Linked DNA regions of Homo sapiens: region 2 is linked to region 1. The links are contacts of gene promoters, found by promoter capture Hi-C in blood cells and fetal thymus (Javierre and others, 2016). All regions are on one chromosome and are shown on one strand. The core of a region is centred on a gene start or on the middle of the fragment in contact, and the rest is flanking DNA. Distances in the headings are between cores, read along the strand shown. Region 1 holds the start of KDM6A (lysine demethylase 6A). Region 2 holds the start of RP2 (RP2 activator of ARL3 GTPase).

Region 1 (7,736 bases), core at 2,284-4,783:
GCTGGAGTACAATGGCATGATCTTGGCTCACTGCAACCTCTGCTTCCCAGGTTCAAGCGATTCTCCTGCGTGAGCCTCCCAAGTAGCTGGGATTACAGGCATGTGCCACCATGCTTGGCTAAGTTTTGCATTTTTTTAGTAGAGATAGGGTTTCACCATGTTGGCCAGGCTGGTCTGGAGCTACTGACCTCAGGTGATCTGCCCACCTCAGCCTCCCAAAGTGCTGATATTACAGGCGTGAGCCACCGCACCCGGCTTATAAGGCCGAAGTTTAGAATAAATGAGAGATGTAGCAATACTGGGGTTATATGCCTCAAGTATAAAGTACTTAGGACTGCTTATGTGTTGGGCTTATAGTGAGGTTGTGGAGGGAGAAGGAGGAAGTGATGGGTAGAGTAATAATAAATTTAGAACCCAGATTGTGAAAGCAAGAAAAAATTTTGGAAATTCCAGCCTTCCTATTTTATTGAGATTTTTGAATCTATGTGTCTGGCACTTTACCTACCTTATGGCATCTAAAATAATGTTATAAAGTGGCTGTATTTTCTCTTTTTCACAGATGAGAGAACTGAAGCTCAAATTAGACTAACTTGTTGAAGTCTGCCTAGCTATCAAGTGGTAAAGGTAGGATCTGAACCTAGAGCTGTATGATTCCACAATTCATGCTCCTTTGGCTGCACTACTCTGCCTTCCGGTGGGGTTTTCAGATTCACTTTTCATGGAAATTTATTATAAAATCATTTATTGTATGTCCCTATTTCTCTCTCCAGTGAAATATGTAAACCTTATAGGCTCTATATCTATTTTACATACATTTGACAGATAACACACTATGTAACATGTGTATGATGTAAGGACTTATGTTACCATATGAAATTTGTCCCATGCTTGATGATAGATCCTTGTAGTTGTAATAGACATAGAGCACTGGCCTAGAGGATAGGTAATGTTCTCAAGGTCGCACAGCCTGTGTAGAGCAAGGATTCGAATCCAGGTCTGCCTCACTCCAACTCCCACCCATTGCATCCACTCCTTGCTGTTCTGCTATTACATAGTAATAGCGGGAAGAAAAGTGTTGAGGTGTGGAGAGTGGGTAGCCTTTTTTTTCTGAGACGGAGTCTCGCTCTGTCACCCAGGCTGGAGTGCAGTGGCGCGATCTCGGCTCACTGCAAGCTCCGCGCCATTCTCCTGCCTCAGCCTCCCGAGTAGCTGGGACTACAGGCGCCCACTACCACGCCCGGCTAATTTTTTGTATTTTTAGTAGAGACGGGGTTTCACCGTGGTCTCCATCTCCCGACCTCGTGATCCACCTGCCTCGGCCTCCCAAAGTGCTGGGATTACAGGCGTGAGCCAAAGCGCCTGGCTGCCTTTTTTTTTTTTTTTTTTTTTGAGACAGAGCCTCACTCTGTCCCCAGGTTGGAGTGCAGAGGTGCAATCATGGCTCACTGCAACCTCCACCTCCCGGGTTCAAGCGATTCTTCTGCCTCAGTCTCCCGAGTAGCTGGGACTACAGGCGAGCGCCACATGCTCGACTAATTTTGTTTTTTGTATTTTTAGTAGAGGTGGGGTTTCACCACATTGGCCAGGCTGCTCTCCAACTCCTGACCTCGTGATCCGCCCGCCTCGGCCTCCCTTTGCAGGCGTGAGCCACAGAGCCCGGCCGGGATTGAGTAGCCTTATAATCCTTGAAAAGGACCTGAGTCAGGAACTGCTAACTTCAGGGAGATAGTCAAATACCAGCAAAATGTCTATCTGTGCTTGTGCAAGTGTGTGTGTATGTGTGTGTGTGTGTGTGTGTGTATGAGAGAGTGTGCGAGCGAGTTACTGGGGTCAAAATTTCCTTGGCTTTAAATGTCACCATTTGTGACAAAGTTAACAATGTATTAATTTAGCCGTAGAAAAGATTTGGCCCTTTGTACACACTCATTCAAGCAAAATGGAGTATCATAAAGGGAAAGGTGTTTCAGAGGAAGTAATTAAACATGAACTATAATCTATACAAAACTACAGTTTGTTCGTCTAGTTACTAGTCTCAGGGGAACAATTTAAAACTGTGTGCAAAATCAGTTGGGATTCCCATAGCTTCCCGCTGAATACTGGTAGGAATTACTGGGTCAGCACTGAATTGTCTTCGTCATATTTTGAAATCCAAGTTTAAATATATAATTTTTATTGGTTACAGGTGGAAAACCTATTGAAAATATAAAAAACTCCGTTTATAAACAGAATCTTGTCCTTATATGTCTATCAATTTTTTCCTATCCCTGTTATAAGACATACAGCTTAGTAAATAAATTTGCCTTTTGAGAAGAGTAGTCGAAAGGCCTATTTTTTTTTCACCTATAGTAAAGATTAAAAGTCAGACTAAAGCCTTTCCCCTGCACCTGAGAGACAGAACAACAAAATGTTACTGTTGTCTAGGGGTTACAAACCTGCAGGTTTTGGGGGATAGAAAGGATTTCTTGGGCCACCAGCTGTGATGATTTAATTATGTCTTCTCTCAGGTCTGTCCACAAGCAGCCCCTACTTTTGTAAGAAGGCTCCACTGAAATCATGGCAATAGAACCCAACATTCTGCAGATCCCGCTTCACAATTTCTCATTGCTTTTTCTTGTAAGACTGTAATGAACTACTGATAAGACACAGGGTAAACACAGCACGAAAATCTGGCCCCAAAGTGCCGCCAACAGACAGACCTTTGGCGGTGGGGAGCCATGGTCGGCAAGCCAGGCCCCGCGGGCGACTCTTCATTCCCTCCGGCCTGGGGCGTATGGGCGGGGGTCAGGGGAGCCCTTCCCCCTTCACTTTCGGCGCGGGTGAGGTGATCGGGGCTGCCAGCGCAGGTCTGGCCTAGGGCGGCACCCGGACCGCGGGGCACGGGACCGGCAGCCGCTCCCCGAGCGCCCTCCTCGCGGAGGCCATTATTTCCAGCAGTGCCAAAAGTCTGAGCCTTCTTCGGAGGGCAGAGGTCGAGGGCCGTGCGCCGCCTCCCGGCTACGCGACCTGTACCAGGCCCTGTGGGGTCCCGGGACCCCTGGAGCGCGCGCGGGACGGCCGGAGCCGCGGTCTGGGCACATCCCAGAGCTCGCGGGCAGGCAAATGCCGTCCTTGGCGTCTTCGCCCGCCGCTCGCGCCCGCCGCGGGCGGTGCCGGACCTCGCCCTTCCCCACCACTCCCCTCCCCCTCCAGAGCCCGCCGCGGTTCCCGAGGTGACACGGCCCGGACCCTCCATTCTCTGCCCCAGTGTATTTAACCAGCACAACCTAACAGGAAGCTCCCTCTCGGTGACAACCCTTCCCCCGACAGACGCGCCCAGCAGCCAACCACCGGCTAGAATTGGCCTGCGTCCCGCTCCCATCTCGGTGGCGGCCTCGGTGGGCGGGGCTCGGGCAGCTAGCAAGTTAAGTGGAGCCACGGCTGACGTGAGTCAACAAAGGTCACGTGAGGCGTGCGGGCCGCGCCGATTGGTGGCGCCAGCCGGGCGGGGAGGGGGGGTCACGGCGGCGGCGTGGGGTTCGCTGTGTGACACAATTACAACAACTTTGTGCTGGTGCCGGGGAAGTTTGTGTCTCCAACGAATCCCCTCAGTGCTCCCCAGCCCCGCGCGCTCCGGCCGTTCCCGCCGTCCCCGCCTGTGGCTGCCCCCTGCCCAACCCCGCGATGTGACCCTACAGCCGAAAGCCGCCGCTGCCGACCCGGGGGCTCCGCAGCCCCTGCCGCCGCCGCCGCCGCCTTCACCGCCGCCGCGTTGGGATTTTTCGTCGCCGCCGCCCGCGGCGGAGGAGGAGGCGGCGATAAAGTTGGTGTGCTGGTCCCGCGCGCAGATTGGGGGCGTCACTGCGGGCCCCGGTCCGAGGGGGGGTGTCGGCGTTGGAGTTGTGAATTCGCTGCGTTTCCATGAAATCCTGCGGAGTGTCGCTCGCTACCGCCGCCGCTGCCGCCGCCGCTTTCGGTGATGAGGAAAAGAAAATGGCGGCGGGAAAAGCGAGCGGCGAGAGCGAGGAGGCGTCCCCCAGCCTGACAGCCGAGGAGAGGGAGGCGCTCGGCGGACTGGACAGGTACGGGCCGCCGTCACTCGCCCGGTCGGCTCCGGACGGGCAGTAGCCGCTCTCCCGGGAGGACCGAGCGCGGCTTGTCTCTGGCGGCGGCGGGGCGGGCACCTCGGTTTGGCGCTCTTCGCGCCGCCTCCGCTGGGGCCTCGGGCTCGGGCAGGGACGGGTCGGTGGCGTTCCCTGAGCGTTAACGAGTAAACTGTGTCTGTCTCCACAGCCGCCTCTTTGGGTTCGTGAGATTTCATGAAGATGGCGCCAGGACGAAGGCCCTACTGGGCAAGGTAAGGCAGCTGCGAGTCGGAGCGCGGACACCGTCTCCCTGGCCGGCGCCGCGCTCGCCCCGGGCCCCGCGGCCGGGTCTGTGCTCATTGTGGCCACGGACGATGGTCGAGGGGCTTCCGGAAACTATTTCCTGCCTCTGCTCTCCCCCCACCCCCGGGTACCCTGCTTGCTCCCTTGCGAAATCGCTCTTTTCCTCTTGTAGCTGGAGGAACAGAGACGGGATCGCTTTGGGGCCGGGCTCAACTGGGTCGACACAACTGCCTGCTATTTTACAGCTTTTTGAGGGTAGGCCGATGATCTTCGAGGTGCCTGTTTAGGGTCAAGGGATCGTGAGTGTGTTCAGATTTTCCCAAATTTCGGACTTAACTTGCCTCTACGGGTTTAAAAAAATTCTTTTCCTTCAAGCAGGCTGTTCGTGATGCCTACTGCTAACCAAATGTTTTAGGCTTTCTTGTGTCCCCGCTCCCAGAAGGGGGAAGTTTCACGGAGTTTAGGTCGGTGAAGAGTTTGCATTGGGCTGTTGACATGTATCTCGATTGCAGTGTGTGTTACCTGAAGTTAGGTGACTTGTTTACTTTTTGGGTCTTTTTGGCATAGAAATACCGTAGTTATTTGTAAACGTGTTCTCTTCCTGGAGCCTCATTTCCTGTGTGTCTGACAGGGGAGGCTGGGGAGGATTCGGGGTGTAGTCTTTTTTTATTTGTGTGGAAAGTTGTTGGCACTGTCATTTAGTTAAGTAATGGCTGCTCCTATCGGCCCAAGATGGCGGGACAGGGTGGGAGGAGAAAGTGAAGGGGGGGGTTAGGGGGAGGGTGTAGAGGTAAACATGGAAATAAATAGTAGCCGTGAATAAGCCTTTCCTTCGGAGTGTGTAGCTCAGTGGTGTTTAAAAAAAATTACCCAAGATTATTTGCATATAGAATTCTTATACCTTTCATAAGCTTGGAAGCAGCATGCATAAGCCTGGTAAATGCTTATCAACCTGTAGCACATTTAGTTATCCATCTGTAAGCTATTGAACAAAGGCTGGAGTCTCAATCTGTATGCATCAGTTTATATTTCCTGACCAAAATCTGATTGCAATGGTATTTGAATACTTTCTTCGTAATTGGGACCGTGAAAGTTGGAGTGTGTGCTATGGGTGTTGTATCCGTTAGACATTTTCTTTTCTAGCTGAAATCATAGCTTTGCATTTGACACCTAGCTTTATTGTTGCAGTTGAGACGCAAGTTTGAAATAAGTCTAACATTTTATTCTTAAGTTGATTTTTTTGTTGTTCTGAATTTTTGTCTGTAGCTTGGTTTCGCAGAGTCATCAATTCCTTTTTATCTGTAATTACACATTTGTTTTTATTTCAAAGTAATTATAAGGTGTTATATTGCATATAATCAGAAAACTAAATGGAAATAATGCTTTTCAGTAAGCCCGGCCCCTTTGACCGATACAGAAAACTTGAATTAAACTTTGACTACGTAGGTATTAATTGGCTTCATTACAATTATTGCTGTAAAAATGAACAGTGACTAGCTCTGGAAAGATTTAAGCGTCAGTAATTGTTGGTCTCCTGCCTTAAAGTTTTTTTTTTTTTTTCCAATTTGAGTATTTAAAGTATTTTATTTAAAAATATTTGACTGCTGTCAAAGTTGTCATTATAAAAGATTAAACATGATTTAAATTAAAAGAGCATTATTTTGTTTTGGAGGGATTATTGTTGGTCTAACATGGGTTAATAAAATTGCTTGCAAAGATAATTCACGTGGAAAAGTTTGGCCAAATCGATTGCTTTTGGTTATGGTGATGAAAAAATAAATGGAATCTGATGTTTTATGTTGAGAATGTGTAAAATGCTAGTTGATTTTATGTCTTAGAATGCTCATATTCATATAGATTCACTGCGAATAGTGCTTAACATTGGATTTCGGATTGTAATATTAAACCCTGCAGTTATGCACTAACGAGTTTAAATTTTAAAAAAGTAACCATTTTCAAATATTCTTGGCAAGTTGTGCATTACTTGATGTTTGAATACATCTTAAAAATGAAAAACTAGTGAAGCTTCACTATGTTTGGGGCCTTCATGATATATGGGGTAATTTGATGAACGATTAAGCAGTTTGTTAAACTAAAGAAAAAAAAATCTTCACTGCTTCAGACTCAGTGCTTGTGAGGTGTCCTACCTGCTTAGGACAAGATTCATCAGCCTTAACATTAAAATAAAACCTTCTGTAATATGTGCTTGCAACCGCATATAGTTCTTGGTTGCATCTTTGTGAGCCTGAACATACCAGTGGGGTGTGTAATGTAAAGCCTGACATTATATAACTTCGCACCCTCTGTTTGAATTGGGTTCTGAATGAAGTGAATGAGCTGGAGTCCTGCTGTAGGAAGTCTTGAATTATTTAGTTTCATCCTTCTTTTAACAGTCCTCGAAGCAGTATTTTTTTGTTTTTTATTTTTATTTTTTGTGGAATGTTGAGCTATGTTGGTTTCAGAATTCTTATTCCCTGAAAGTCTTAAGAGTTGGCTTTCCTTTACTGGGCAGGTTTAGGCTACTTACCTGAGGGCAGATAATGGAATTGAATAACTCCCAGAATTCCCTTTTTAGCTTTGATTTTTGTCCTGCCATGCCCCCCCACCCCCAACCCCCCGGCCCCAATTTAGTCTGCACTTTGTATAACGTTTTCCTTTCTGGCAGAAATTTAGCTATTACTACTTGTTTTCAAAAATTCTTATTCCTATGTATATTATTGGATTTTCTTTCAAGTTTTTAAAATTCACATTTGTATGTTAAAAAAAACTCTTGACCTAAAAGCTTTAGAAAGTTGAAAGCATTAAATATGTCTCTTACTTGTCCCTTAACATATGTACGTATACATATATACACACGTGTACATATACATATATACACACGTATACATATACGTATACACACATATACATATACGCATATACACACGTATACGTATATACGCACGTATATGAATACGTATATACACGTATACGCATACGTATATACACACGTATACGTGTATACATATATACATGTATATACATACGTATGTATATGCGTATACACATATATGTATATATATGCATATGCGTATGTATACGTATGTACATATCTATATGTGTATTCCTTTTCCAGGTGTGCAGTTTATTCAAACCACTGATTTCTCATCGTCTCCCGAATGTTTTTGTCAGATTCAGTTATATTAGAGTCATTGAAAGAATTTTTTGTTTGTAGGATGGCCATTTGATATACAATGCCTGGGGTTTTGGATTAAAAAAATAAGGTAGTTAATACAATGTATTATTTTTTGGTAATGTCTTTAAGGTTGTAAACAGCTAGAGCCTGCGTAATTAGAGTTCTTGTGATATAGGGTGATCTTGAACAGTGCTCTT
Region 2 (7,736 bases), core at 2,952-5,451, 2.0 Mb after region 1:
GAAAAGAAATCACTAGAATATAAATAGCAGGAGGAGCACAAGCAGAACAAGCAACCAACTTCTGCCTGAACTCTTCAGAGTTAGCGTTCCCTTTTCAGGACCTGCTTCCCACCCATATCTGTAACACCCATGTTTGGAATTCGCCCCTGCAGCTGCAGCAATGGGACCAGGGGTGCATACCAACCTAGAGCCAATCTGTTATTGACTGGCCAGCAATGTATATGATTATCTCCCTTGAGAGTCTGAGACTGTAGCATGCCCTTGGACAGAAAGGCCATGAGGAATCAGGGTGGGATAGCTGTTGTCAACCATGTAAATGCTGATGAGTAAGTAGAGAGCTGGTTTGCAAAAATAAGTAGTGATGAGAATTCATGGGGACAGGTGAAAAAGAGATGGGGCAGAAAAGAAAGAAAGAATAAGAGAGAAAGAAAAAGGATGAGACAGCACTAGTATTAGCTCTGTTCATTAGCTTTCTAGTCCCCAGTTCTTAACATTTGATTTAATTTTCTTTTTGTAATTTTGTTTTTGGTCAAGAGTGATGGTAGGATGGGAATGAACAGAAAAGGGACTTTATCTTCACTTTTAAGGGTCCCTGAAAAGATCACTCTTGGATATAGGTTTTATTGTAGATTTGAGCTTTTCTCATTAATGAATACTTCAAAACAGTGAGAGTTTCAGAGGTTGTTTCTCTAGAATTAGTTTTGTTATATTGTTTGTTCATTAAGAGGAATAGCATCACTGTGGGACAGAGCTCCCATAGGCATCAGAAGGCCGAGGCAGATACTTATTTCAGATGAATTAGAGAGGAACAAACTTAAGGCAGGAGGAGGCACTGGGAAACACAGGATGTGGATTTTTCCAGTCCCTGCTCAGCCACTCTCATCGTGACCACAGATTCATCCCTTCACCTCTCTGGATCTCTGCCTCCTCTGCTACACTAAGTAGTGGTCATAGTTATATATTTATATCTGGTCACAGATGTTTTATAATCATAGACCATAGATTATAAATATAATAATAGATTATAAAATATCGAATGAGGGTCTTATCCAAAAACATCTTCACATAAAACTTTCATCTCACTCTGAAGGAGAAAAAGTGTGCACTGGGTAAAGACTCTATTGCCTAAGATCTGGAACTTAAATTTGCAGTAATTTCTAATACTTAAGCACATGTACTTTTCTTCCCGATTGTGCAATAAAGGACGGGAAGTAAAAAGGGGAACATTCTTTATGTTCAAATTAAGTCGGCCGGGCACTGTAGCTCACGCCTGTAATCCCAACATTTTGGGAGGCCGAGGTGGGTGGATCACCTGAGGTCAGGAGATCGAGACCAGCCTGGCCAACATGGTGAAACCCCGTCTCTACTAAAAATACAAAAATTAGCCAGGTGTGGTTTTGTGCGCCTGTAGCCCCAGCTACTCGGGAGGCTGAGGCAGGAGAATTGCTTGAACCTGGGAGGTGGAGGTTGCAGTGAGCTGAGATCATGTCATTGCACTCCAGCCTGGGTGATAAAGCGAGACTCTGTCTCAAAAAAAAAAAAAAAAAAAAAAGTCAGAGGCTCATTTAGGATACAAACTAGATGTGAATAAGTATGGGAAATTTAAAAGATAACCAAATTTGAACCTGAAGTGATCAGCATTTGATATCCTACTGAGATGTCAAAATACTGTTTCTCAGAGAAACTGACTTACCTTTCTTTTCTATTACATAGGCAATGCATGTGTATTGCAGTAAAATTCGACCCAAGTATAACAAATGTTTATATTTAGTGTATATATCTTTAAATATATTCTGACGAACCCTATGCCATTTGCTTAGAACAGATCTGATCGTTCATATGCAATGCTTATGTCCTCAACGAGGCTATAAACTCCATGAGGAGAACCCCTTTACCATAAATCCACATGCCTCCCACCCCCACAGTTTGGTCACTTTCTTTGGGAAGGGATGGGGGAAGTTTATAAATGCTTCCTTCACTAGCACCCATGCATGCATTCATTCATTTGACAAACGTTGTATTGAGCACCTAGTATGGACTTGGGCCAGGTGTAGGAGATTCAAAGGTACATCCCTCCCCTCAGCTTTCCTCCCCACTGCCTTTTTTTTTTTTTTTTTTTGAGACGGAGTCTTGCTCTGTCGCCCAGGCTGGAGTGGAGTGGCGCCATCTCGGCTCACTGCAACCTCCGCCTTCTGGGTTCAAGCTATTCTCCTGCCTCAGCCTCCCGAGTAGGTGGGACTACAGGCGCCCGCCACCATGCCCGGTTAATTTTTGTATTTTTAGTAGAGATGAGGTTTCACCATATTGGCCAGGCTGGTCTCGAACTCCTGACCTTGTGATCCGCCCGCCTTGGCTTCCCAAAGTGCTGGGATTACAGGCGTGAGCCACCGTGCCCGCCCCCCCCGGCTCTGGTTTTTTTTTTTTTTTTTTTTTTTAGACAGAGTCTCCCTCTGTCGCCCAGGCTGGAGTGCAGCGGCGCCATCTTGGCTCACTGCAACCTCCACCTCCTGGGTTCAAGCAATTCTCCTGCCTCAGCCTCCCGAGTAGCTGGGACTACAGGCACACGCCACTACGCCCGGCTAATTTTTGTATTTTTAGTAGAGACGGGGTTTCACCAGACGGGGTTTCACTGTGTTGAGCAGGATGGTCTCGATCTCCTGACCTCATGATCCTACCGCCTCGGCCTCCCAAAGTGCTGGGATGACAGCCGTGAGCCACCGCGCCCGGCCCTGCATGCCCTTTATGACATACCTTTTAGGCCAGGCGCGGTGGCTCATGCCTGTCATCCCAGCACTTTGGGAGGCCGAGGCGGGCAGATCACCTGAGGTCAGGAGATCGAGACCAGCCTGCCCAACATGGTGAAACCCCGTCTCTACTAAAAATACAAAAATTAGCCGGGCGTAGTGGCAGGCGCCTGCAGTCCCAGCTACTCTGGAGGCTGAGGCAGGATAATCACTTGAACCCGGGAGGCGGAGGTTGCAGTGAGCCGAGATGGCACTGCTGCACTCCAGCCTGGGCGACAAGAGCAAAAACTCCATCAAAAAAAAAAAAAAAAAAAAAAGATATACCTTTTTGATCTCAAGAAAGTCACAGTTCAAATAGGGAAACAATACACAATTAACTATTTTACTAAGTACTTGTGCAATTTTAGAGCCATATGTGAAAGTCTTAAGAAAACACAGAAGCAGCCTGGGGTGCGGTGGGTCCTGCCTGTAATCCCAGCACCTTGAGAGGCTGAGGCAGGATGATCGCTTGGGCCCAGGAGTTCAAGACCAGCCTGGGCGACATAGCAAGACCCCATTTCTACAAAAGTAAAAAAAAAAAAAAATAGGTGGGCATGGTGGTGCTTGCTTGTAGTTCCAGCTACTCAGGAAGGAGGCTGAGGCAGGAGGATCGCTTGAGCCCAGGAAGTCAAGGTTGCAAAGTTGCAAGGTTGCAGTGAGTTATGATTGTGCCACTGCAGCCTGAGTGACATAGCGAGACCCTGTGAAAGAAAAAGAAAGAAAGAAAGAAAGAAAGAAAGAAAGAAAGAAAGAAAGAAAGAAAGAAAGAAAGAAAGAGCACAGAAGAGGATTGGGAGGTTATGGGGTACAATTCTTGAGGGGGTGACCCTGGCCAGGCGATGAGAGGGCGGTAGGAAGGGTGATGAGGGGAGAAGAGGATTTAGAAATACAAATTTCAGGGTCTTCTTGTGTCAGCGGGAATTTCTGTCCCTCACAACTTTCATCATAAGATAAATCTAATGTTCAACTAGAGATCTCTCCCGCGCCTTGAACTTGCAAATTTATGAATCAGGGGCAAAAAAAACCCGGATACCGAGCCTGGCCTCCCACCAGCTAGAGAACCCACCAAGTTCCAGGAGGGGCGGGGCCGAGGGCGGTCCGTGCCACAGCTGTGGGCGGGGTTGTCCGTGCTTGCGCCAGAGCCGGCCCGCCCCGCCGCCAGGGGCTGTCGCAGGAGCCAGGCGTGGATTGGTATGTGGGTATGTCGGCCTCTCTTCATAGGCCGCGCAGGATTGCTCGAGAGGCTTTGATTGGCTCAACAGGCGCTGAGCGTTCATTGGCTGCGCTGGGTCGTCAGGGCGACGAAAAAGGGGAAGGGGTGCTGGGCCTGGCGGGCAAACTAAGGCTGCGGACCGTTGGGCGGTTCCGCGGGGCGTTGTCCGGAGAGCTGCGAGGCCGGGGTTCCCAGGGTTCACGCCACACTCTAGGAAGTGCCTGAGCTAGTGAGCTGGCCAACGAGCTCCGCGGGCTGGGACCATGGGCTGCTTCTTCTCCAAGAGACGGAAGGCTGACAAGGAGTCGCGGCCCGAGAACGAGGAGGAGCGGCCAAAGCAGTACAGCTGGGATCAGCGCGAGAAGGTAATGAAAGTCGTGTAGCCGCCGTCTCAGCCTCCCTGAGCCGCTCCGCCAGGTCCCTTACGGCCCGGGACCGCTGAGGGGGCCGACCCAACTGCTGCCGCACTCTCTTGAACGCGGATAGCTGAAGTCGGGGTGCACGACTTTTTTGGGGAGCGGGGACGTGAAGTACAGCGCTAGAGAGGCCGCCCAGAGGGCTGTGGAGCTCCGGAAGGAGCCTTAGGAGTTTGTTGTCGTGGTAGACAGACTCCCCCGGGAGCTTTCTCTGACTCCGAACCCTGCCTTGCTCTGACTTCCTGTTGGAGATGATCGATTCGAGAGAGGGAAAGAGCCGAGAACGCCCTGAATCTCAAATCACCTCGTTTCACCCACCGGCAGCGTCAAGCGGGGTTTTGTCCAGTCGTCGAGTTACGTATATGGGACCGATTCTCATCTCTTCCGGGGCTTAATGTTCTGTGGCTGTTTTCTCTTTTGTCTGCCCTCCCCGGCAAATCTCTTTGGTGCCTCATGATATATTTCACTGCTGAATTTTCTCAATTACCAAGTGGACTGTTTAATGTACAGCTTTACTCCCCCTCCTCTTCCAGTTATCCGAAAGAAATAATGAATATCGCATCAGTCTTGGAATGTGTATTAAGACTGTAAGGTGAAAATAAGCGGCATAAACCAGGCAGTATTTTACTGCTGGTTTAAATGAATGAAAACGCCCTTATTTTTATTTTTGTATATAGCCAGAAACGAAAAACCTTTGAAAACCTCCATTAGTCTTACACAAAACACACTCGGTCATACATTTCATAATAGTTCCTCTTTCTACATAGTTCTCCATTTGTGCTTACTAAACTACTTTGATGGACTTATCAATTATTTCTCCCAAACAAAATGAGAGATTTTTCAAATGGGTATTATGAACAGTTAACTCTTTGCTTAAGGCAACATATCTTTACCCAAGATTACTTTATAATAAATGTATTAACGTTTTGGAATCACAGACCTTTCTGCATGATTTCCAATCCCCAGCAGAATGTATTCAGGTAAGCTCTGGTCTCTAAGAGTCAGAGTTAGGAAATTGAAAGCTTTTTGCAGCTTTTCTCAGCCCCGTCTTTCTGCCCCTACTTCTCATACACACCCTTCTTGGGTCACATGGTACCTTTATTCTCTGTTAGTCATACTCGATAGTAGCATTTTATAATGTAGGGGAAGAAAGTACTATGCTTTCTATTTCACAAGAAGATTGCACCTGCCATTTAAAGTTATCTGATGGGCGGTTTTTAAAAGATATTGTTTTCCTCAGCCTTTGGCTTTCTAACAATGTTCTTTTAGCTTGAATTGTCTGCCTTAGAGAAAGTTGCATATTTCATTTTTATTTTAGTTTTTTCTTTTGAACTCAGGCTAAATCTAAACTAAATAAAATGCCTTTTTTATTTATAGTAGTCTTGGCTGCCTATGACTCATCGTTTCACAATAAATTGTTTTACAGTTAATGTTTATTAACATAATATTCAGGTTAGTTAGGACTTCTCATGTTAATCCTTCTTTTAGATAAGTGTGTGTGTCCTGTGATTTTTTTTCTTCTTTTGCCCATTGGCTAAGTAAATGCATTGAGAAATATAACATTGGACACCAACATCTAAGCTTTTTCCCCACAAATGAGTGTGTAATAAACTTTCAATTGTAGAAACTGTTTTGAGCTTACAGAGAACCTTTTTTTTTGAGAACACTACTAAGTTCTGTAGTTGTAGAGTTGTAAGAGATGTTATTGGATATATAAAATAAGCTCATGCTTCTGAGTGTGTGTATAATAAAAGTTAAAATCTTGATCAACTCAGCCAATCAAAATGAGAATTTCTAACCAAATGAGCATTCTGAAAAAAACCCCAGTTTTAAAATATTTTGGACTGTTGAAGAGAATTACCAGCTTACATTTTGAGACAATGCAGATACCACATTTCCCAACATAGCTTTTTCTTTTTAGTTTTTTTTTCTTTTGGAATTACTAGGAATTCTTTCTAAGTTGCCTCATTTTGATAGCTTGTTAAATTTTATACAATTTAAAATATTTTTTTCTAGGGCCAGGCATGGTGACTCATGCCTGTAATCCCAGGACTTTGGGAGGCCAAGGCTGGTGGCTCTCTTGAGCCCAGGAGTTCCAGACCAGCCTGGGCAATATGGCGAAACCTCATTCCTACTAAAAATACAAAAATTAGTGGGGCATGGTGGTGCACACCTGTAGTCCCAGCTACTCAGTAGGCTGAGGTGGGAGGATCACCTGAGCCTGGGACTTAGAGGCTGCAATGAGTCATGATCGGGCCACTGCCCTCCAGCTTGGGCAACAGAGTGAGACCCTGTTTCCAAAAAAAAAAAATAAATAAATAAAATATTTTTTCCTAGTTCCTTGCCTCCCGTGAGGTTAATTTGGGCTAGTGTGCAAATGTTCTGTATTAGTCCAATGATACGTTTACTGAGCATGGCCTTGCTTGCTCCTAGAAGATTTCAGTTGTACCTTAAAAGGAACAGATTGCAAATACAGCCCAGAGAACATAAATGAGATATGATGCATGCATATTAATAGAAATGATTTATATTAAAAGTTTAGGCTTCTGGAATGTGGTTATGGATTATAGCATATACAGTTTTAAAGTTATATCAGACAATTACCATTCAACTTGTAAGACTTTTACATGTAAAAACAAAATGGGTTGCCTGAAAAATTTCCTTGCAGCTTAGAAAAGGGTGTTTACATTTTTCCTTAGGTTGTGTAATCAGAGTATCTTTTTTTGATGTTTTCTTTTTGAGATGGAGTCTGGCTCTGTCATCGCCCAGGCTGGAATGCAGTGGCGCGATCTCGGCTCACTGCAACCTCTGCCTCCTGGGTTCAAGCGATTCTCCAGCCTCAGCCTCCTGAGTAGCTGGAATTACAGGCGTGCACCACCACGCCTGGCTAATTTTTGTATATTTTTAGTAGAGACAGGGTTTCACCTTGTTGGCCAGGCTAGTCCTGAACTCCTGACCTCAGGTGATCCACCTGCCTCAGCCTCCCAAAGTGCTGGGATTACAGGCGTGAGCCACCGCTCCCAGCCCAGAGTATCTTTATTGAAGGGCACCCCTTGGGTTTTGGGGTTTGAGTTGTGTAATTGGGTCAGTCTTAGGGGACTGAAGCTGGGAGAAATTGTCTCATTTAGAAGGAATGTCTGGGGACTAAGCATTGTCATAGCAACTGACATACTGTAGTCAACAGTGTAAGAAGCTCATTTTCTATTGCTACTGACTTTGAAAAAGAAAAAAGATTACAATTCTTACACTGATGTGATGAGAAATATTTTTGGATTGTAAGACTTGTGTTTAAATTATTTCAAAAGAAATGTTTTTATCCTTATC

What was found. The method cuts DNA at HindIII sites, captures the fragments that hold promoters and counts their contacts. A CHiCAGO score of 5 or more calls a contact.
Region 2: a contact is called between the fragment with the promoter of RP2 here and the fragment with the promoter of KDM6A in region 1, in 1 of 17 cell types (neutrophils). The highest score is 5.4, in neutrophils.

Annotation. Positions count from the first base shown.
Region 1 is chrX:44,869,655-44,877,390 of GRCh38, forward strand. It overlaps KDM6A (lysine demethylase 6A), which reads left to right and starts at 3,534. Exons shown (of 30, transcript NM_001291415.2): 1 at 3,534-4,058; 2 at 4,270-4,333. The coding sequence starts at 3,898. LOC105373190 (a long non-coding RNA gene) reads left to right here. Exons shown (of 3, transcript XR_949040.2): 3 at 560-649. RefSeq lists silencers at 2,724-3,223, 3,474-3,703, 4,044-4,303, 4,344-4,423, 4,434-4,533. The HindIII fragment of the contact is 16,030 bases long and covers 1-5,273 here.
Region 2 is chrX:46,832,842-46,840,577 of GRCh38, forward strand. RP2 (RP2 activator of ARL3 GTPase) reads left to right here and starts at 4,202. Exons shown (of 5, transcript NM_006915.3): 1 at 4,202-4,361. The coding sequence starts at 4,260. RefSeq lists a silencer at 3,804-3,883 and an enhancer at 4,194-4,333. The HindIII fragment of the contact is 11,862 bases long and covers 1-5,432 here.